4 separate regions of the Homo sapiens genome follow, and all the other regions are linked to region 1. Evidence: promoter capture Hi-C in 16 types of primary human blood cells and fetal thymus (Javierre and others, 2016). All regions are on one chromosome and are shown on one strand. Each heading gives the region's core, a stretch centred on a gene start or on the middle of the fragment in contact. The rest is flanking DNA. Distances are from core to core; before and after follow the strand shown. Region 1 holds the start of ZNF284 (zinc finger protein 284). Region 2 overlaps ZNF461 (zinc finger protein 461). Region 3 overlaps ZFP14 (ZFP14 zinc finger protein). Region 4 overlaps ZNF790 (zinc finger protein 790).

What was found. The method cuts DNA at HindIII sites, captures the fragments that hold promoters and counts their contacts. A CHiCAGO score of 5 or more calls a contact.
Region 2: a fragment that was not itself captured here is called in contact with the fragment with the promoter of ZNF284 in region 1 in 1 of 17 cell types (non-activated CD4 T cells); the score reaches 5.3 in non-activated CD4 T cells.
Region 3: a fragment that was not itself captured here is called in contact with the fragment with the promoter of ZNF284 in region 1 in 1 of 17 cell types (total CD4 T cells); the score reaches 5.0 in total CD4 T cells.
Region 4: a contact is called between a fragment that was not itself captured here and the fragment with the promoter of ZNF284 in region 1, in 1 of 17 cell types (non-activated CD4 T cells). The highest score is 8.6, in non-activated CD4 T cells.

What each region holds. Positions count from the first base shown.
Region 1 is chr19:44,070,504-44,075,654 of GRCh38, forward strand. It overlaps ZNF284 (zinc finger protein 284), which reads left to right and starts at 1,656. Exons shown (of 5, transcript NM_001037813.4): 1 at 1,656-1,788. The HindIII fragment of the contact is 12,821 bases long and covers 1-5,151 here.
Region 2 is chr19:36,653,835-36,659,228 of GRCh38, forward strand. It overlaps ZNF461 (zinc finger protein 461), which reads right to left. Exons shown (of 6, transcript NM_153257.5): 3 at 4,465-4,591; 4 at 2,614-2,709. Among named protein-coding and RNA genes, the nearest start is that of ZNF461, 10 kb to the right of the region's middle. The HindIII fragment of the contact is 1,042 bases long and covers 1,926-2,967 here.
Region 3 is chr19:36,335,095-36,340,626 of GRCh38, forward strand. ZFP14 (ZFP14 zinc finger protein) reads right to left here. Exons shown (of 5, transcript NM_020917.3): 5 at 1-5,532. The coding sequence ends at 5,130. Among named protein-coding and RNA genes, the nearest start is that of LINC00665, 6.1 kb to the left of the region's middle. The HindIII fragment of the contact is 6,588 bases long and covers 1-4,848 here.
Region 4 is chr19:36,814,534-36,820,012 of GRCh38, forward strand. ZNF790 (zinc finger protein 790) reads right to left here. Exons shown (of 5, transcript NM_206894.4): 5 at 2,895-5,479. The coding sequence ends at 3,900. The region is part of intron 3 of ZNF790-AS1 (ZNF790 antisense RNA 1); the gene reads left to right. Among named protein-coding and RNA genes, the nearest start is that of ZNF790-AS1, 20 kb to the left of the region's middle. The HindIII fragment of the contact is 1,881 bases long and covers 2,892-4,772 here.

The DNA.
Region 1 (5,151 bases), core at 406-2,905:
TAGGTGTAGAAATTTATTTCTGGATTTTCTAGTTTACGCAGCACTAAAAAGAATGTACTGTACATGAAGTGATTTCTAGGATATGTTGTTACATGACCATAGAAGAGTTAGAAACGTGCTTTCTTTTAAGTAATAATGGAAAATAAGAAATCTACACATACTGATACGGTTTGGCTGTGTCTCCACCCAAATCTCATCTTGAATTATAGCTCCCATAATTCCCACATATCATGAAAGGGACCTAGTAGGAGGTAATTGAATCATGGGAGTGGGTCTTTCCCATGCTGTTCTCGTGATAGCAAGGACAGATAGAGGAGTGACTTTGAATAGAATGGGAGGCAGGTTTGCCCTAAGCGATTTCCAGCTTGAGATTTCCTTAGTGATTTTGGGGGCCCAAGATATTTTCCTTTCACAATACTAAGCAGTTTAATTTCTCTTAAATGTGGCATTTCCACGTCTAAAGAATATTAATATGAAAACTTTAAAAGTGGGAAGATAGCTTTTCCAGGAGGGCAATTGGCCCTCCATATTGGCCCTTGACAGGGCAGGAGCATCGCCATCTTGGACAAACACTGCCATTTTAAAGTTCGCGTTGATCAAAAACTGCCTAAATCCAAAGGGCATCAGCCTAATGGCTAAGGTCAGCATGACCATAAACCACAAATGACATCTCCAATCAGAAACATTCCAACCATAAGATAAACCCCTCCCTGACCAGAGACATGCCAGCACCGAGATAACCTCCCTTCCATTGGAGAGATGTCAGTCCCAAGATAACTTCCCCTCCAACCAGAGATATTCCAACCCCACAACAGACTTCTCCCCAATACAGAAACATTCTAAGCCTGTGGTAAGCTCTCTCTCCCTAAAGCCAATACATACTCTTAGTCCGTAAGAGAGAGCGCTCCTGACTGCAATCGGCCAGAAGGCCCTCTCGGTTTATTCTCCAAAACGAACCTGTCTTTGACTGTTGAGCCGCTTTTCGTGTTTTTTTTTTTTTTCTCTTTAACTCTTACAGCCCTCTTAAACACTTAAACTGTGGTTGTTTTTCTTGCCAAACCAGTGGTACAACAGTGTCTGGTTGTACCAGGGGCTGGTGCCCCACTCAATGCCTCTCCCAAACCATTTTTCCTGGCCCATTATTTAAGCTCTTAGATTTAGCCTCATACTATTAGCGTCTAGTATATTAGCCTTTCAGCCATCTCCTGACCGCTCCACAGTCACTCCCCGCTAACTCCTTGAAGATTGTATCTCCTTGCTTTGTTCTCTTTCAGTAACACTCCTGTCATCATGGGAGGCGTGTAGACTTCAGGAATTCCTGTCTATTCAATATTTTCTCTCGAGGACGCAGGGAGAGGGAAGGACCACTCTCAGGGCCACAGTCCATATTCCAAACCAGGCGCTTGGGTCTATGGGATTCATTCCTCGTGGGCATTGCAGGAAGTGTAGTCAAAGAGCACCGCGGAGTCCCACGCTTCCCGCCGGAAGGTGATACTATAGAACGTCTCCTTTGAGATTCAAGGAAGTGTAGCGCAGGAGATCTGTTGAATGACGAGCAAGTAGGCTCAGGACGGCGTATCCGGGGAATTCTGGGAAATGTAGTTCACACGCTGCGCGGGGTAGGGGCACTTCCGCTCCCGGGGGGCGAGGTTGCTGCAGTGCATTCGGTGGTAGTTTGGTGTCAGTCCTGTGTCTTGTCGGTCCTTCTAAACGTGTCCCCTTACGATGCTGGCTCGCAACCACCTGGAAGTTGACTAAGGGGAGAAGGAGTCTCGTTGGAAAACGGAGGTTTGGAGGGACAACGGCCTCTCTTTTCGTTCTTGTCAGCGGAGCCTTCTTGGTCTTGGGGCTGTCCTCGCGTCCCCGGGCATGAGGCTGGGGGTTGGGACTTGGTCGGGACGCGTCTCGCCTGGTTTGAGGGTTTTTGGGGCTCTCAGCTCGCTCAGTCCGCCTCCCTCCATCCCACCTGTGAGGCTACTTTCTCACAATTTAGGGTTGGGATGTTATTAATCTCCCTGTACCTCCCACTGCTGTTCTTTAAAATGGGGACTTTAGGACCATCCTAATGAAATCGTTTTGGGAACTGGAAGAGGTAACACAAATGAAAGCCTTAAAGCAGCCCCTCCCTTAGTGACTGGTGGTCTCTTCTTAGTGTTTATTTCCCACGAAGCCTGTCAGGTCCCCGGGTGGGGTCAGAGCTCCATCTGCAGGGATCCCCGCCCTTGTCTCTGATTCCTGCAGGACGCTGGGTGATCCCGGACGCTTCTGACCTCTTTTTAGGAAGGCGAGGGTTGTTTCCATTTCCACGAAGGGAGAGGAACATTTAACTTTTATGCCGGACGGCAATGCGGTCAGGGTGTTTCACAGCTTTCTCCTTCCCCAGCCTGATTCTCAAAAAGAGCTGCAGGGAGGGACTTCTTGGCTACTGAGGGCAAAGTTCCACGAGAGTGGTCCTTGGCTTTTTTTCTTTTACAGAGATGCTCACCCCGACCAAGAGTGTAGGATGTGTCCTCAGGCATGGGTGTTGATAATAATTAAGCCTCAATTGGTAACTTTATCCCAAGAGCTTTATACAAGTAGTCACATTTTCGCCACACCGTGGCTCTGTGGAGAGGTACTACTTTTTTCAGTTTTAAAGATGAGTGAGATACAAAGGAGCAGGAGTTATCTGAGAATAGTCACCTAAGCAGTAAGAGGTGGAGCTGCGGTTGAAACCTGGGCGTTACAGGTCAGAGCCTTAGTTGATAATCTTTTGGATACATTCTCATTGAGGCAGAGGAACTAGCTGGAATCTAGTGGGGAAAGCAAGCTAGGACTTGATTGAAGGGAGCCTTGAGAGCAAGGCTTATGGGCTTGGACTGTTCTGGGAGTTTATCAACTATTTCATTCATTAGAACTATTTCATTTATTACAAATATTTCACTTGTTATGCAGCGGTATGATTGTGGAGCGTTCAGAAATTGGAGAAATACGAGTAGTACAAGTTTATAATTACCCATGAATCCAGCATGTAAAGATAGTAACTGTTAAACTTCGAGTGCATTTTTTTTTTTTTTTTGAGACAGAGTCTCACTGTGTTGCCCAGGCTGGAGTGCAGTGGCACGATCTCGGCTCACTGCTAACTCCGCCTCCCAGGTTCACGCCATTCTCCTGCCTCAGCCTCCTGTGTGAGTAGCTGGGACCACAGGCGCCCGCCACCACGCCCGGCTAATTTTTTTGTAGTTTTAGTAGAGATGAGGTTTCACCGTGTTAGCCAGGATGGTCTTGATCTCCTGACCTCATGATCCACCAGCCTCGGCCTCCCAAAGTGCTGGGATTACAGGCGTGAGCCACCGCACCCGGTGCATTTCTTTTTGGTCTTTCTTTGGCATATTTGCATATTTATTTATAAACATTTAAACAAAATTTTATGATTAAAAAAATGTGTTTTCCCTTATGTGTTTAACTATGGAAATTTGGAAACACTGCCAAGAGGGAAATAGCTAGTGAACTTACATGTTATATCATGCTCATCCTAATTTATCTCATCGTTATCTCATTTTTTTTTTGGTAAATGTTTCCTGATATTGGCCGGGCATGGTGGCTCACGCCTGTAATCCCAGCACTTTGGGAGGCCGAGGTGGGCGGATCACCTGAGGTCGGGAGTTTGAGACCAGCCTGACCATCATGGAGAAACTCCATCTCTACTAAAAATACAAAATTAGCCAGACATGGTGACGCATGCCTGTAATCCCAGCTACTCGGGAGGCTGAGGCAGGAGAATCGCTTGAACCCGGGAGGCGGAGGTTGCAGTGAGCCAAGATTGCACCATTATACTCCAGCCTGGGCAACAAGAGCGAAACTGCATCCTCTGCCTCCCGGTCTCAAAAAAAAAAAATATTTAACGTTTTATTTTCATATCATTTGAAACCTATAGAAAAATTGCAAAAATAGTGTTAGAAATTCTCATATACTCTTTACCCAAATTTGCCAAATGTTTACATTTTTCCTGTTTGCTTTGTTCTTGCTGATCACCCAGATACCACCAGGAACATACCTGTAGCCAGAGACAGTTGCTTGTAGCTTTCTGCAGCAAAGAAGCCCACATTTCAAGATAATTGTGGGGTGTCTTGGTAAGAGGTGTTTAGAAAGGGCTGGTTATAGGGTTTCACATAACATGCTAGATACTATTAGATATTATACTGGCTAGGCATGGTGGCTTATGTCTGTAATTGTAGCACTTTGGGAGGCCGAGGCAGGTGGATCACTTGAGGCCAGGAGTTCAAGACCAGCCTGGCCAACATGGAGAAACCCCATCTCTACTAAAAATACAAAAATTAGCTGATTTGTCCACTGTGAAGTTACTTTTTTAAAATTTGAGGGGGCGTGCGCCTGTAATCCCAGCTATTAGGGAGGCTGACGCATAAGAATCATTTGAACCTGGGAGGCAGAGGCTGCAGTGAGCTGAGATGGCGCCCCTGCACTCTGATCTGGATGACAGAGTGAGACTCTGTCTCAAAAAAATAATTAAATATTATATTAAATAATATTGTTATCTATTACATATCACATCTGTTAAAAAGCTAATAATAGTAGTTGTAGTGTCATTTATTAGATAGTGTTGGATACCATATTACATAACGTTGTTATCTAATCTGCAGCTTCCATATTTAAATTTATTCAGTTTCTTCTTTTGGTCCTTATAACTATCCCTTGCCCCACTTTTTACCTGTAACCCCATTCAAAGTCCAATTTTATGCATTGTCTTTATTGTCACATTTCTATACTTTTGTTTAATCTAGAAGGATTCCACAGCCTTTGTCTTTTATATGCATGGTTTTTTGAAGAGTATAGGCAAGTTGTTTTGCAGAAAGACATTCATTTGGGGTTTGTCTGGTAAATTTCATGTTTACGTTTAGAGTATGCATGATTGGCAGGGATACCATAGTAGTGGTGAGATGTCCTTTTCATTGCAACCTAACAGTGTCCAAATGATGTTGGTTTGTCCCTTCACTGGTGATCTCAACTTTGTTCACTTGGCCAAGATGAAGTCTTTCAGATTTGTCCACTGTGAAGTTACTTTTTTTAAATTTTGAAAATAATAAAGTTCCTTATGGGGAGATACATGATTAGTGGACATTCTACTGTAAAGAAGAGTTTCCATTTCTCCCC
Region 2 (5,394 bases), core at 1,197-3,696, 7.4 Mb before region 1:
TGGGATAAGTATAGCTAACACAAGGGAGTCTTGTGAGGTATTGTTGAGTATTTTGGCTATTGTGGTGGTGACACAAGGCTACATGTGATAAAACTGCATAGAGCTATAAATATACACACAGAAATGAGTGCATGTATAACTGGTGAAATCTGAGTAAGTTCTATGAATTGCAGCAATGTCAATTTTTTGGTATGGTATTGTACTATAGTTGGGTAAGGTATTAACCCTGGGGGAAGCTGCAAAGGGGGTACACAGGACTCCCCTGTACATTTCTTTGCAACCTCTTGTGAATCCATAATTATTTCAAAATAAAAAGTCTTTTTTTAAAGAAAATTCATGCCAAGGAAAAGGCCTACCCAGGTATAAAAAAACTGGTAAAGGAATGTTATCTTTACATTAAAATATGTATGAGAATATGTACCATTTTTCCATGATTCCTCTCTATTAGTTTCCTAGGGCTGCCATTAACAAAGTCCCACAAACTGGGTGGCTTAAAACAACACAAATGTATTCTCTCACAGTTCTGTAGCACTTGATTGATTGATTGATTGAGACAGGGTCTTGCTCTGTTACCCAGACTAGAGTGCAATGGCAGAATCATGGCTCTCTGCAGCCTTGACCTCCCAGGCTCAAGCAATACTCCCAACTCAGCCCCTTGAGTAGATGGGACTACAGGTAGCATGCCACCATGCTAGGCTAATTTTTTTTTTTCTTTTTGGTACAGACAGGGTCTCACTATATTGCCCAGACTGGTCTCAAACTCCTAGGCTCAAGCAATCCTTCCACCTTGGCCACCCAAAGTGCTGGGATTACAGGCATGAGCCACCATGTTCAGCCTATAGCACTTCAATGAATCACAGACATCATCAAAGAACTCTAGCCTGTAGAATGGATCTGCCCTTGGTCTATAGCACCCCAAACTTTCCTGGTTGATCTCCTTCCTTCTCAATCATCCCTCTGCCATCTCTACCTCCTCAATATAGTCATATATTACTTTCTCTAACTTTCCTAATTTCTGATCAACACTATTTTTTTGCCTAGTGATTCTATTAGAACATCCATCCATGTATTGTTGATCCCCTGTTAGATTGAAAACGTCTCTATAACACTTTAAAAATGTATTCCCATCACCTAGCAAAGCAACTTGTATGGATCTTTTATCTATTTATTTAGAGACAGCATCTTGCAGTGTCACCTAGACTGGAGTAAAGTGGTACAATCTTGGCTCACTGTAGCCTCAAACTCCTGGGCTCAAGTGATCTCCCACCTCAGTCTGCTGAACATCTGGGACTACAGGCATGTACCACCATGCCTGGTGAATATTTTAATTTTTAATTTTTTGTAAAGACAGGGCTTTTGCTATGTTGCCCAGACTGGTCACAAACTCCTAAGCTCAAGTAATCCTCCCACCTGAGCCTCCCAAAGTGCTGAGATTACAGGTGTGAGCCACTGAGCCCAGCCTGAATCTTTTAAAAAACTAATAAGCAGGCTGGGCACAGTGGTGTATGCCTGTAATCCTAGCACTTTCAGAGGCTGAGGTGGGAGGATTGCTTAAGGAGGTCGAGACCAGCCTGGGCAATACAGTGAGACCTCATCTCTGCAAAAAATTAAAAAATTAGCCATGCATGGTGGCATGGGCCTGTAGTTCCAGCTACTCAGGAAACTTAGGTGAGAGGATTGCTTGAGCCAGGGAGGCAGAGGTTGCAGTGAGCTGAGTTTGCACCACTGTACTCCATCCAGCCTGAGTGACAGAGTGAAACCCTGTCTCAAAACAAACAAACAAAAATTAATAAACACTATAGATTGTGTCCTTTGATGTACAGAAGTTTTTAGGTTTGATGTAGTCCCATTTGTCTGTTTTTGCTTTTGTTGCCAGTGCTTTTGGTATTATACACAATAAATCATTGCCAAATCCAATGTCATGAAGCTTTTCTCCAATATTTTCTACTTAGAGTTTTATTGCTTTAGCTCTCACATTTAGGTCTTTGATCCATTCTGAGTTAATTTTTCTATATGGTGTAAGACAAGGGTACAACTGTATTCCTTTGCCTGTGGATAATCCAATTTTCTCCATGGAAGTGTTGGCACCCTTGTCTAAAATAATTTGACTATTTATGCAAGGGTTTATTTCTGGGCTTTCTATTCTATTCCTTTAGAATATCTTTTTTTTTTTTTTTTTTTGAGACGGAGTCTCGTTCTGTCGCCCAGGCGGGAGTGCTGTGGCGCGATCTCCGCTCACTGCAAGCTCCGCCTTCCGGGTTCACACCATTCTCCTGCCTCAGCCTCCCGAGTAGCTGGGACTACAGGCGCCCACCACTGCGCCCGGCTAATTTTTTGTATTTTTAGTAGAGACGGGGTTTCACCGTGGTCTCGATCTCCTGACCTCGTGATCTGCCCGCCTCGGCCTCCCAAAGTGCTGGGATTACAGGCGTGAGCCACCGCGCCCGGCCTAGAATATCTTTATGCCAGTACCACACTGTTTGATTACTATATCTTTGTAATATGTTTTGAAATCAGGTTTTCCCAAAGTTTGGTTTAAAATAAACTTGCCAGCCCAACATTCTGACCAGCTGGCCTGCTCTCTGCAAGAGCTTCCTGTGCTTGCTCACTCACCTGGGCACCATCTTCCTGTCTCTTCCCTCACAACCATCCAGGGCTCCTTCCCTTGCTCCAATGAGGAGATTACGGCTGGCTTAGAAACAGAAAGTCCTAGTTATAAGAAAAGAAATTGAGATGAGATGGAAATGAATGTATCCAAATACAGTGATTTAGAACTGATTAAAATAAAAATAAATCACAGATAAAAATGGTACTTGATAAGGGATACAGAGGAAATAAAGGAGAAGAGATGAAACACTCATATTCAGATGAACACAGGATCATAACAAACAAAGCAAACAAACAGGCGATAAAATAGTACTTAAATTTATGTAAGGTTTCTCTTTTTTGCTGTGAGGAAAAAAAAGAAGCTTCTTGAGATATTTATTCTTTTTTTTTTTTTTGAGATGGAGTTTTGCTCTTGTTGTCCAGGCTGGAGTGCAATGGCACAATCTTGGCTGACTGCAACCTCCACTTCACGGGTTCAAGTGACTCTCCTGCCTCAGCCTCCTAAGTAGCTGGGATTATAGGCGCACACCACTCTGCCTGGCTAATTTTTGTATTTTAGTAGAAACGGGGTTTGGCCCATATTGGCCAGGCTGGTCTCAAACTCCTGGCCTCAGGTGATCCACTTGCCTCAGCGTCCCAAAGTGCTGGGATTACAGGCATGAGCCACAGCACCCAGCCTCCTTTTTTTTTTTAATGTTAACTGTACAAAGTTCTTTAAAAATAACTTCCAAAGGCAAATCACTTAAAAGAGAGTACAGGTCAGGCGCGGTGGCTCACACCTGTAATCCCAGCATTTTGGGAGGCCAAGACGGGTGGATCACTTGAGATCAGGAATTCGAGACCAGCCTGGCCAACATGGTGAAACCCTGTCTCTACTAAAAATACAAAAATTAGCTGGGCGTGGTGGCGGGCACCTGTAATCCCAGCTACTCAGGAGGCTGAGGCAGGAGAATTGCTTGAACCTGGGAGGCAGAGGTTGCAGTGAGCCAAGATATGCCATTGCACTCTAGCCTGGGCAACAAAAGTGAAACTCTGTCTCAAAAAAAAATTAAAAAGGCCAGGTGCGGTGGCTCATGCCTGTAATCCCAGCACTTTGGGAGGCCGAAGCAGGTGGATCACCTGAGGTCGGGAGTTTGAGACCAGCCTGACCAACATGGAAAAAACACATCTCTACTAAAAATACAAAACTAGCCAGGCGTGTTGGCACATGCCTGTAATCACAGCTACTCGGGAGGCTGAGGCAGGAGAATTGCTTGAAGCTGGGAGGCAGAGGTTGTGGTGAGCCGAGATCACGCCATTGCACTCTAGCCTGGGCAATAAGAACGAAACTCCGTCTCAAAAATAAATAAATAAATAAAATAAAAAGTGAAAGATTACATTTATTATAGGAAATGGAGTGGTGCTCATTTGAGAATAGTAAATGAACCTTTATTACTCCAGCCTATCACTCTATTACCCAGGAAAGAAAAAAGCTTCACTCCTGGAACCCATGTGTCTAGTTTTAATCTTATGCTAGTACACTAGCAGATTTAGCACAGTGGAAGTGAAACAAAAGACAGAGTCTGCTTTCTTTGACAGTGTTATGCTTTAACATTGCAGATTTCCAATTCTGCCCCTTAAACATCAAGGAGGAGTTATTATAAGAAAGGACCAAAAGAACGTGTAAGGATGGGGAAAATGAAAATGTACCTCCATTTAGCTGTGCTGGTTTCTACAATACATAAAGAGAAAATTCATCCAGTTATTTGAAAGCTAGCCCTAAATTAATAGGGGGGAAAGCAGAAATTCCAAGAAGTAGATTGTGAATTGTTAGCGGAATTCTGAATTGTCAGGTTCTTAATTTTTAGATAACTTTACCAAGTGACACCAAGTTGCTATAATTCTCCAACATCACCTCCTTGTACAAATTCCTCTGCGCTGGGTTCAGGCATTCCCATTCCTCCTGAGAGACATCTATAGCCACATCTCTGAACATCACCAACTCCTAAAATGACAAATAATAGTACTATTTTTGAAATTATAAGAAATGTTTTTAAAAAGAAAAGAGAAGTGCTAAAAGAAGGTACTGCAAGGAAGGAGACAGTCTACTGAATATATAGGCTAAGCCTGGGACATGGGTCAAAGAGGAATTTAGTGTGACTGAAGCGGAGTGCCCATATGTTCTTAAACAATTCATTTTCTGCAGACACATCTTCTTGTGTAGGTGGGAAACTCCTGTTAATCAGTCATCTCAAAACTAAGAAAATAAGTAGAGGCTCCCAATTAAATTAAATAGTCAAAAACTTTTAAATCTTTCCAAAATGTCTTATTAAAATCTCTATCTTGAGAAAAAGAACTTGAAGATTTTTATTCATGATTATGACTATCATGCCATAGGCATTTTTAGTTTTCCTGCAAATTCTTTAGTACACATCTGGTGCAGACTATATTTTCCATAGATGGACACTGCTGTATCTTGCATCCCAAATATTCTTCTTCAGTGTAACCTTGACATCCCCCTTCCAATTGGCGTAAAGGTCTGTGCCCCCTTCTCTTGAACCTGAAAGGACATCTGTGACTTATTCAACCTATAGAATACGGCAGAAGTGATTATGTGACTTCTGTGGTTAGATCACAAAAACGTCTCATACTTCTGCCTTACTTTCTGGGGATGTTCCTTCTGGAAACCCAGCCACCATGTTCCTAGGAAGCCTAACAAGCTCTCCATGGGAGAGCTCATGAGGAAAGGAACCAAGCCTCCCCAAACAACAGTCAGCAACAGCTTGCAAACCATGTGAGGGAACTATC
Region 3 (5,532 bases), core at 305-2,804, 7.7 Mb before region 1:
AACTCCTGACCTCAAGTGATCTGCTCGCCTTGGCCTCCCAAAATGTTGGGATTACAGGCGTGAGCCACCGTGCCTGGCCAAAAGTAGATGTTTTATGTTTTGCTTCATTTGCCTATTTTCCCAAGAAATCTTTTTTTCAAATACCATCGAGAATTAATATTCCTTGAAGCAAACTTCTGGAGAATGTTGAATTTAGGGGTCAAACACAGGCTTTCTGGAGGTATTTGGTGCTTGGGAAAAGAAACACTGACCTATTAGCAAAGATAGATTTTGTAATAAATTCTAAATAAACTTTATTTAGAATTGTGAAAAATAGAATCTTCATAATGAAGGTGGTCTAGAATTTGCTTTCAGAAACTATCTTCATCTAATTTTTATTAGGATTATTTTACCTTGCAGAATTAATTGGTAAAATCTTTAGGATTATCTATTCCTTAAAGTTTTTATAAGTATCAGATTTTTTAAACAGGGAGTTCACACACACACACACACACACACATTTTTTGTTAATCTATTTGGGTTATACGGTGAGTTAATTGTAAAACATATTCCTTTTGGGGGAAAAATGCAATCCTACATTTTTACTTGTACTGGAATGAATATACACGTTTGTGCATGTGTGCATGTATAGTTTTACCATATTATGTTTATTATTTTTGAGACAGGTTCTCACTCTGTCACCCAGGCTGGAGTGCAGTGGCGTGATCTTGGTTCACCGCAACCTCTGCCTCCTGGGTTCAAGCAATTCTCCTGCCTCAGGCTCCCCAGTAGCTTAGATTACAGGTGCCCGCCACCATGACAGGCTAATTTTTGTATTTTTAGTAGAGATGGGGTTTTGCTATGTTGGTCAGGCTGGTCTCGAACTCCTGACTTCAAGTGATCCACCCACCTCGGCCTCCCAAAGTGCTGGGGTTACAGGTGTGAGCCACTGTGCCCGGCCTAGTTTTGCCTTATAATTTTAAAAATCTGCTTGATATAATCTAGAGTTGTGTCTCTTTTATCATCATTAATACTCTAAATGTATTATCTTTCATTTTCTCTTCCTTGATTATAACTGCCAAAATCTAATCACTATTAACATTGAATCAAGTCTAATATTCTCCATTCTCTTAATTTCTACTTTCTACTGTTACTTGGCTGTTCCTTTTTTTTTTTTTTTTTTTTTGACAGACTCTTGCTCTGTTACCCAGGCTGGAGTGCAGTGGCGCGATCTCAACTCACCACAAACTCCGCCTCCTGGATTCAAGTGATTCTCCTGCCTTAGCCTCCCAAGTAGCTGGGATTACAGGCATGCACCACCATGCCTGGCTAATTTTGTATCTTTAATAGAGATGGGGTTTCTCAGTGTTGGTCAGGCTGGTCTCAAAATCCCGACCTCAGGTGATCCACCTGCCATGGCCTCCCAAAGTGCTGGGATTACAGGCATGAGCCACCGCACCTGGCCACTTGGCTGTTCTTTACTTGGGTTGGTTTTATTTTGTTGTTTCCTTTTTCTTGACGGAAATACTTATTCATTCCCTCAACACATTCATCTGTGTGACAGGCCTGGTGTTGCTGCTGTGGGTAAGTGAAGAAGATGAAGACTGTATCCACAAATAAGATTTCCTTACCACATTACAGGGCATTAATTTGTCACTGAACAGAACTTTGATTATATCTGACAAGGTTAGATGTGCAGGCATCTCACTGTCATTCATTTCTACATAGTCTATAATTTTGGTTTTGATTTTAAACATTTTATTATTGAAATTTCAAACACATACAAAAGTAGAAATATTAGAACAATAAGTCTCCATGAACAAAACACTCCACTTAAATTATCAACATGTTGCCAATTTAGTTTCCAGCTCTCTTTGCCAATTATTTCTTTTGCTAGAATATTTTAATCCAAATGTGTCTATCTTCATTTCATAGTATGTATCTCATATCATACGATCTTTTATTTTTTATAATCACACTGACATAATCCCTAACCAAATTAATATATGTAAATATCATTTAATATTTAGTCCATGTCCACACTTCCCTCACTGTCTCCAAAATGGCTTTTTATGTTTTGTTCAAACCAGGTCCAAGTAATGCCAACATACTGAATTTAGTTGATATGTCTCTTTAAGTCTCTTTTAATCTGTTAATGGTTGCCCTTCCCCTTGTATTTTCATGCTACCTGTTAGTTGAAGAAATCAGGTAATTTGCTCTGTAGAATTTCACACATTCTGGATCTGTTTGGCTTCTTCCTTGTGGTGCCCTTTATAGCCAGCCCTCCATATGTGCAGATTCAACCAATCTCAAATAGAAAATACTCAAAAAAAAACAATAAAAATAAAATACAATAAAAATAATGCAAATTGAAAAATACAGTATAACAACTATTTACATAGTATTTACATTGTGATAGGTATAAGTGATCTAAAGATAATTTAAAGTATACAGGAAGATGTGAGTAGGTAATATGCAAATACATACTATGCCATTTTATACAAGGGACTTGAGCATCCTCAGATTTTACCATCAGTGGAGGATCCTGGAACCAATTCCCCATGGATACCAAGGGATGACCATATACTGTTCATCTAGTCCCTGTCTGCTTTCAGTTCATTATTCCAGCAATAAGGCTTTGTAGATGGTGGTGTGGACTTCCTATTGCATTACGTCAGGAAGTGTGTTGTCTGATAGACCCATTTTTATTAAGGTTAAAACAGATCAAAGGGTTCAGAGGTGGCCAGTTTGATAGATCCACCATAAAAATCTCGCTATAAAATATTTCACCTATTAGTTGTAGTACCCATTGAAGATCATGTTTTCTGGACCCATTATTCCATTAAGGTCTAGAAAATGGTGATTTTTCTAATCCTCTAATTCCTTCTAGATTTATTAGACTTCTTCAAAAAAGAAAAACCCATTCAAAAAACAAATTTTTTTTTTGAGACAGGGTCTCACTCTGTCACCCAGGCTGGAGTGCAGTGGCACGATCTCAGCTCACTGCAAACTCTGCCTCTTGGGTTCAAGTGATCCTCCCACCTCAGCCTGGGACTACAGGTGTGTGCCACCATGCCTGGCTAAATTTTGTATTTTTAGTACAGACAGGGTTTCACCATGTTAACCAGGTTGGTCTCAAACTCCTGGCCTCAAGTGATCCACCCACCTTGTCCTCCCAAAGTGCTGGGATTACAGGTGTGACCCCTGTGCCAGGCCAAATTCATTTGAATTTGATGAACTTCTGGTGACCCTGAAATTTGGTTCACATGGGAAAAGGAAACTAAATGACAATTTTTCCTCTGATTTATTGATTTCAAGAATAATGAGTTGGGCTGGGTGTGGTGGCTCATACCTGTAACCCCAGCACCTTTGGAGGCCAAGGAGGGAGGATCACTTGAGCCCAGAAGTTCAAGACCAGCCTGGGCAACATAGTGAGACCCTTTCTCTAAAAAAAAAAAAAAAATTTAGGTGGAAGAATCACTTGAGCCCAGGAGGAACAGGGTACAGTGAACTGTGCTTGTACCACTGCACTCCAGCCTGGGGGACAAAGTGACACCCTGTCTCAAAAAAATTATACATTGGTGCTCTAGCATCTTTCATAGGTTACCAAATTATGCAGCCACAATCAAGTAAACTATCAAATTATTGGTGGGATCACATCAAAAACTCAACTTGAAACAACTCCTACTGGTTGAAGATATGGCATTTTGAGCATCCAAAAGTATACTGACTTATAGAATGATGTTTTGTTTCTTTCCCACAGGAGTTTTATACACACACATAAATATACACAACAATATTAAATTCCTAGGTGGTTAATTTCTTTTAAGCCACATTTTTGATAGTTTCTAATTAATTTTAAACTGTGGTCAGACAACAGGGATTGTAAGCCTTTTGCTTTCTGGAATTATGGGAAAATCATTTCCTATTTCCCTCTAATTCTTCAACAGCTGTATTACTAGTGACCTCACATTCATGAAATTCATTTTTGGCATGAAATTTCTAATGCAGCTCAAGTGCTGAAGAACTTCCTACATTCACTACAATCTAAATTTTACCTAGAATAAATTATGTTTAATAATTTCTGAGAGGTGACAGGAGGCATTTCTACATTTATTATGTCTACAGATCTTCCTTTTACGTGAATTCACTAATACTAATGACAATAATAACAATTACAGATAATATTTACAGAATACATGCTATATGACTGTGATTCCTCCAAGTATTAACTACTTACTCCTTGCAACAATCCTATTCCACAGTGTGGCAGGCTGACTCTAAACAGGCCCCCCAGTGGTCCTGTCTCCAGGACTTATTCACACTCTTGTATCATCCCGTTCTCTTGAGTGTGGACTATCCTAGTAACTTACTTCTACCAGTAGAAGGTGAGGGAATGTTACTTCCATGATTAGATTACACAAGATGGTAACTTCCATCTTGCTAGCAGACTGTCCTCCCTTTTGGCTTGCATGCCTTGATGAAGCAAGCAGCCATGTTGATGAGGCTATTGTGGCCAGGAGCTGCAGTCAGCGTTCAGCCAACAGCCAGCTAGAAACTGAGAATCTCAATGCAACAGGCCTCACGGAAATACATTGGGTAACAACTATGTTAGTCTGGATGTGGATCCTTCCCCAGTTGAGCCTTCAGATGAGACCTCAGCCCTGGCTGAAATCTGTAGCCTTGCAAGAGACCCTGAAGCAGAGGACCCAACTAAGTCATGCCTATACTCCTGATCCAAATTATAAGATATAATTATATGTTATTTTATGCTACTAAGTCTGTGGTAATTTATTACGCAGCAATAAATAACTAATACATATAAGTACTATTATTACCATTTTACAAGTCAGCAAAATGAGGCACAGAAGCTTAGTATCTTGTCCAATAAATCAAACTGGTAATCAAGTGGAGAAAGGGAGATAATGACAGATAAGGCTAAAGATTTTCCTACATTCATTACATTATTCTCTCATAGGAATTTGCTGAAGATAAACCATGTTTAAATGGTGTTGGAAGGCTTTTAAATCAACATATTCTTTCTCTAATATAAAATTTATTATGCTTGGAATTGAGCATGAAACACATTTTCTCAAAAATGAATTTTCTGATGTTCTGTAACATCATATACATTTGAAGGCTTTCTTCTATTAAATTCCATTATGAATCTTCTGATGCTGAGTAAGGTGTGAATGCTGTCTAAAGGCCTTCTTACACTCCTTACACTTGTAGGGCTTCTCACCAGTATGAATTCTCTGGTGTTGAGTAAGAAATGAATAAAGTCTAAAAGCCTTACCACATTCCTTACATTCATAAGGTTTCTCACCAGTGTGAATACTCTGATGTTGGGTAAGTTGTGAGAGCAGTCTAAAAGGTTTTCTACATTCCTTACATTCATAAGGTTTCTCACCAGTGTGAATACTTTGATGCTGAGTAAGTTGTGAGAGCAGTCTAAAGGCCTTTCCACACTCTTCACATTCATAGGGTCTCTCACCAATATGAATGCTCTGGTGTGAAATAAGCTGTGAGTAACTACTAAAGGTCTTCCAACAT
Region 4 (5,479 bases), core at 2,582-5,081, 7.3 Mb before region 1:
ATTCTATCTAAACACTAGGAGACCACCAGGCTCTGCCTGAGTTACTCCTCCCAGCAGTAATCTGGAAAAACTAGGAAAAATTTATTTCTGTTTTTTTCAGGGATCACTGTTCTTCATTGGAAATTGACATTTTAGTATATTCAATGTCTTAAAAACCATTGTTTCACCTATTTCGTTTAGCTTTTTAGTATTTACAGATATAAGGGTAAATCTGGTCTGTTTCTCCATTTGATCAGAAGCAGACATCTGTTCATTCTGTTACTGGTGACTTTCAGTTAACAGAATAATAAAATTAATATGAATATGCCACACTTTTCTAGTTAAAATGTTTTGTCTAGGAAATATTCTTTACTGTGAGGTTATAAAATGATTCTCAGATAAAAACAAGGTAAAATCAAAGGTGACTACTTTCCAACCTTGCTCTCTCCCACCTATAGTTTGTATTTTAATTTTTCTTAAGAGACAGGGGTTTTGCTATGTTGCCCAGGTTGGACTTGAACTCCTATGCTCGAGGGATCCTCCTACCATGTCCTCCCAAGTAGCTGGGATTACAGGCGTGCACCACCACACCCTGCTCCCACCTATTATTTCATCATTTTGATTAGGTCTTGGCTTATCCTTCCACTGTTTTTGAAAGTATAAACATAGCTGGGTGCGGTGGTTCACGCCTGTAATCCCAGCACTTTGGGAGGCTGAGGCGGGCAGATCACGAGGTCAAGAGATCGAGATCATCCTGGCCAACATGGGGAAACCCCATCTCTACTAAAAATACAAAAACTAGCTGGGCATGGTGGCGCATGCCTGTAGTCCCAGCCTCTCGGGAGGCTGAGGCAGGAGAATCTCTTGAACCCGGGAGGCGGAGGTTGCAGTGAGCCAAGATTGTGCAAGCGCACTCCAGCCTGGCAACAGAGTGAAACTCCATCTCAGTGTACTTGTCACCTTAAAAAAGATCTAGTCAACATGAATGAAAATGGCTTATTACAATACAGTTACATAACAAAAAATTATTTTTCACACAAATTGTGAAATTCCATAGATGACAATAATTTAGGAGGGAACTACCTGTTAAAGGTGTGACTTACAAAATGTGCTAAATATGTGTACATATAGTCACCATTTCTTAACTCATGTAACACTAAAAGATACCAAGAACTTCACTTAGAAGAAATTGATAAAGTAACTTTTCATCATTCAGAATTACCCATCCAGGCTGGTCACGGTGGCTCACACCTGTAATCCTGGCACTTTGGGAGGCTGAGGTGGGCGGATCACCTGAGGTCGGGAGCTCGAGACCAGCCTGGCCAACATGGTGAAACCCCATCTCTATTGAAAATACAAAAATTAGCCAGGCATGGTGGAGGGTGCCTGTAATCCCAGGTACTCGGGAGGCTGATGCAGGAGAATCATTTGAACCTGGCAGGCAGAGATTGTAATGAGCCAAGATCACCCCACTGCACTCCAGCCTGGGCAACTAGAGTGAGACTCCACCTCAAAAATAAAAATTATCCATCCTGCTCAGAGCTTAAACATTATAAGCAAATATCTACTATATTATTCTTTGATTAAATATTGGGTTCATCTATGTAAGTTTTTTTCATGTATCTTCATGAGTGAAATTTTTCTGGAATTTGATGTTCAAGAGCTATCCCATCTACTTTTATTATAAAAATGTTAGTCTTTTAGCATGCCCTGGCAAATTTTCCATAGGATTTTCTATTCTTCAGGGTGTAGCCTGTACAGTTTTCTAGTCTTACATGTTTGTTTTGTTTTGTTTTAGACAGGGTCTTGCTCCATCACCGACTGCAGTGCAGTGGGGTGATCACAGCTTACTGCAGCCTCAAACTCCTGGGCCCAAGCAGTCCTCTCACCTCAGCCTCCTGAGTAGCTGGGACCAGAGGCATGTGCCACCACACCTGGCTAATTTATTTTTTGCAGAGATGGGGGTCTCCCTATGTTGTCCAGGCAAGTCTGGAACTCCTGGTTCAAGTGATACTCCTGTCTCAACCTCCCAGAGTGTTTGGATTACAGGCATGAGCCACTGTGCTCAACCTCATCTTACATGATACTTTTTTCTATTTTTTGAACTTTTTGGGTTGTTTTTGAAACTTAATCATATTTAATAATGTTTTCCTAGAAAAAAACCGTACACATATAAAAATCATGTCTAACAGAGTTCACATACTTAATACTAAAAAATATCTCCAAACATATAGTTATATTCCATTTCTCCTTATAATATAGTAGAGGCACTGACAAAGTCTAATGAATAATAGTTTTCTTCAAAGGACTAGATTTTGATGAAAAACCTGTATGGTTTTTTATTCCATGATTTCAGCTTTTCATTAAGCCTTTCCATTCATTCATTTGGGGTATTTGTTCTTATTCTACCTTGCTGTGTAATCATTATTTAACTCAATAAATATTTGAGGCCCTACAACATTATAGGCACTGTCCTAAGTGCTGTGGATACAGTGCTGTGGATACAGTGATGAAGAGAAACAAACTGCCCTCAGTCTTCTTGGTTTTATACACAGAGCAATTTCTATTGATAACTGTTTTAGTTATTTCACAGGATTTAAAATATAGGTCTCATTATCATTCTAAATACTCTGTAATTTCACTTTTTATTTGCTCTTTAATCTAAGAATGGTTTATATATAGTAGTAAATTTCAAAGAGGTAAGAATCCATATGGCTATCCATTTGCTAGTTTCTGAGTTATAACTGTGGTAAAGAATTATATAACACTTGGCTTTAGAAATTTGTTAGAGAGAAGTTATTTCTGAATGTCTTTTAAAAAACTGCTGAACACTCAACAACCCCACTTTTACTAAAGTCATAAGGCTTTCTTTTATAGGTTTTTTTGATGTAGCATGTGAAATTAATATTCAAAGCTTTCTTCATTGTATTTTACTGATTTTTTTTCAGAATTAACATTCTGATGTTCAGTAAGACATAAATAGAGATGACATATTTGTCTATAATCATTATAGTCTTAAAAGTCCTCCTCTCATAAAATGGCTTAATACCAATACAAATGACAGTCACTAAGTCATGTAAATCTCAAATCATTCAACCCTTATAATCTAATGAATACGATTAAACAGACATAGATTTAAGATACTTTCCAAAAAAAAAAAATAGAGGCAGGATGTATTGAAACAAGACATGCCAAATAAATTGTATGACATAGTTCAAGGCTTTTCTAGATTAATTACATGATTTTTGTGGAAATACAACAGAATTTTGCTAATGATGAAAGATTTCCAAAATGAATTATATATAAATTCTTGTGGGTTTTTGTTTTTGAGATGGAGTCTTGTTCTATCACCCAGGCTGGAGTGCAGTGATGTGATCTTGGCTCACTGCAACCTCCACCTCCCAGGTTCAAGGAATTCTCATGCCTCGGCCTCCCGAGTAGCTGGGACTACAGGCGTGTGCTACCACGCCCGGCTAATTTTTGTATATTTAGTAGAGACAGGGTTTCACCATGTTGGTCAGGCTGGTCTCGAACCCCTGACCTCAGGTGATCCACCCACCTCTGTTTCCCAAAGTGCTAGGATAACAGGTGTGAGCCACCATGCTTGGCCAAATTATATATAAATTCTTTATGCAACATCTCTGATGAGAATGTTTTGAGAATGATTCAAAAAGAATTCATGCTATCTCATAAAATTTTACCCTGATATTCTGCAATTGATAACTGATCAGTAATTTCTTTCCTATATTGATTGCATGATGAATTCTCTGCTGCTGCTGCTGCTGCTGCTGCTGGATGTGTGCTCTGTTAAAATGCCTTCCAATATTACTTACATTTGTGGTGTTCCTCAAGAGAAAAAAATAAATGACATCAATTAATGAGTCATGAATAAAGCCCTTCCTACACTTTTATATAATATTTCACAAGAGTGAAATGAAGTGAGAGCTTGAAGAAAATGCTTTCTCAAAATCTTTAAATTCATAGGATTTCTCAAAAGTGTAAATATTCTGGTGTTGAGCAAAGTTTGACTCATGACTAAAGGTGTTCCCATAGTCTGTCCATTCACAGAGATTTGCACTATTATGAATTTTTTGTTCAGTAAAATATGAATGGTGACTAAAGATGTGGCTACTTTTCTTGCATCCATAAGGTTCTGCATCAGTATGAATTTTCTTATGTCGTGTAAGCTGTGAACCCCAGATAAAAGATTTCCCACATTCTTTACATACGTAAGGTTCCTCACCAGTATGCATTCTCTGATGTCGAGTAAGTTGTGAACCCCAGAGAAAGGCTTTTCCACATTCTTCACATTCATATGGCCTCTTTCCAGTATGAATTTTCTGGTGTCGATTAAGTTCTGAACCACGAAAAAAGGTCTTTCCACATTCCTTACATTCATAGTTTCTCTCACCAGTATGAATTTTCTGATGTCGATTAAACTCTGAGCCATGAAGAAAGGTCTTTCCACATTCCTTACATTCATAGGATTTCCTCTCATTGTGAATTTTCTCATGTTGAGCAAGATACGAAGCCCAAGTAAAAGTCTTCCCGCATTGCTTACATTCATAAGGTTTCCTGCCAGTATGAATTCGCTGATGTCGAGCAAGGTGTGAGCTCCAAATATAGGCTTTCCCACATTTCTCACATTTATAAGGTTTCCTACCAACATGAACATTCTGATGTTGAGCAAGATTTGAACCACGAATAAAGGCTTTTCCACATTCCTTACACTCATGAGATTTCTCACCAGTATGAATTCTCTGATGCTGAGTTAGGTGTGATCCACGAGTAAAAGCTTTCCCACACTCCTTACATTCATAAGGTTTTTCACCAGTGTGAATTCTCTGATGTTTAATAAGATGTGATCGCTGACTAAAGGCCTTTCTACATTCATTACATTCATAGGGTTTTTCACCAGTATGAATTCTCTGATGTCGAGTAAGATCTGAGCCACAACTAAAGGCCTTCCCACATTCCTTACATTCATAAGATTTCTCACCAGTATGAATTCGCTTATGGACACTAAGTTGTGAATGAAATCTAAAGGCTTTCCCACAATCCTTACATTTAAAAGGTTTCTCACCGGTATGAATTCTCTTATGACCAGTAAGACTCGAACGTAAACTAAAAGACTTCCCACATTCTTTACATTCATATGTTTTCTTAACAGTGTGAACTGTCTGATATTGAATAACTTCTGAATCAGGAAGAAAGGTATTCCCACATTCTTTATCTCCACAGAATTTCTCACTTGTGTGAATTAACTGATGTTGAGTATGATCTGAACCAGAAATAAAGGCTTTCCCCAGTTCTTTAAATTCATTCAGTTTGTCTCCTGTATTAAGTCTCTGGTGTAGATTAAACACTGTATGCTGGTTAAAAGTGGGCCTTTTTTCACAGGTGCGTATCACCTGCTTGAAGCATTCCTCTTGATTATCTTGAAGTGTTTGAAACTGAGTGTTGCCTTCCCAGTCACCTCTAAAACATAAACAGTCAAGGC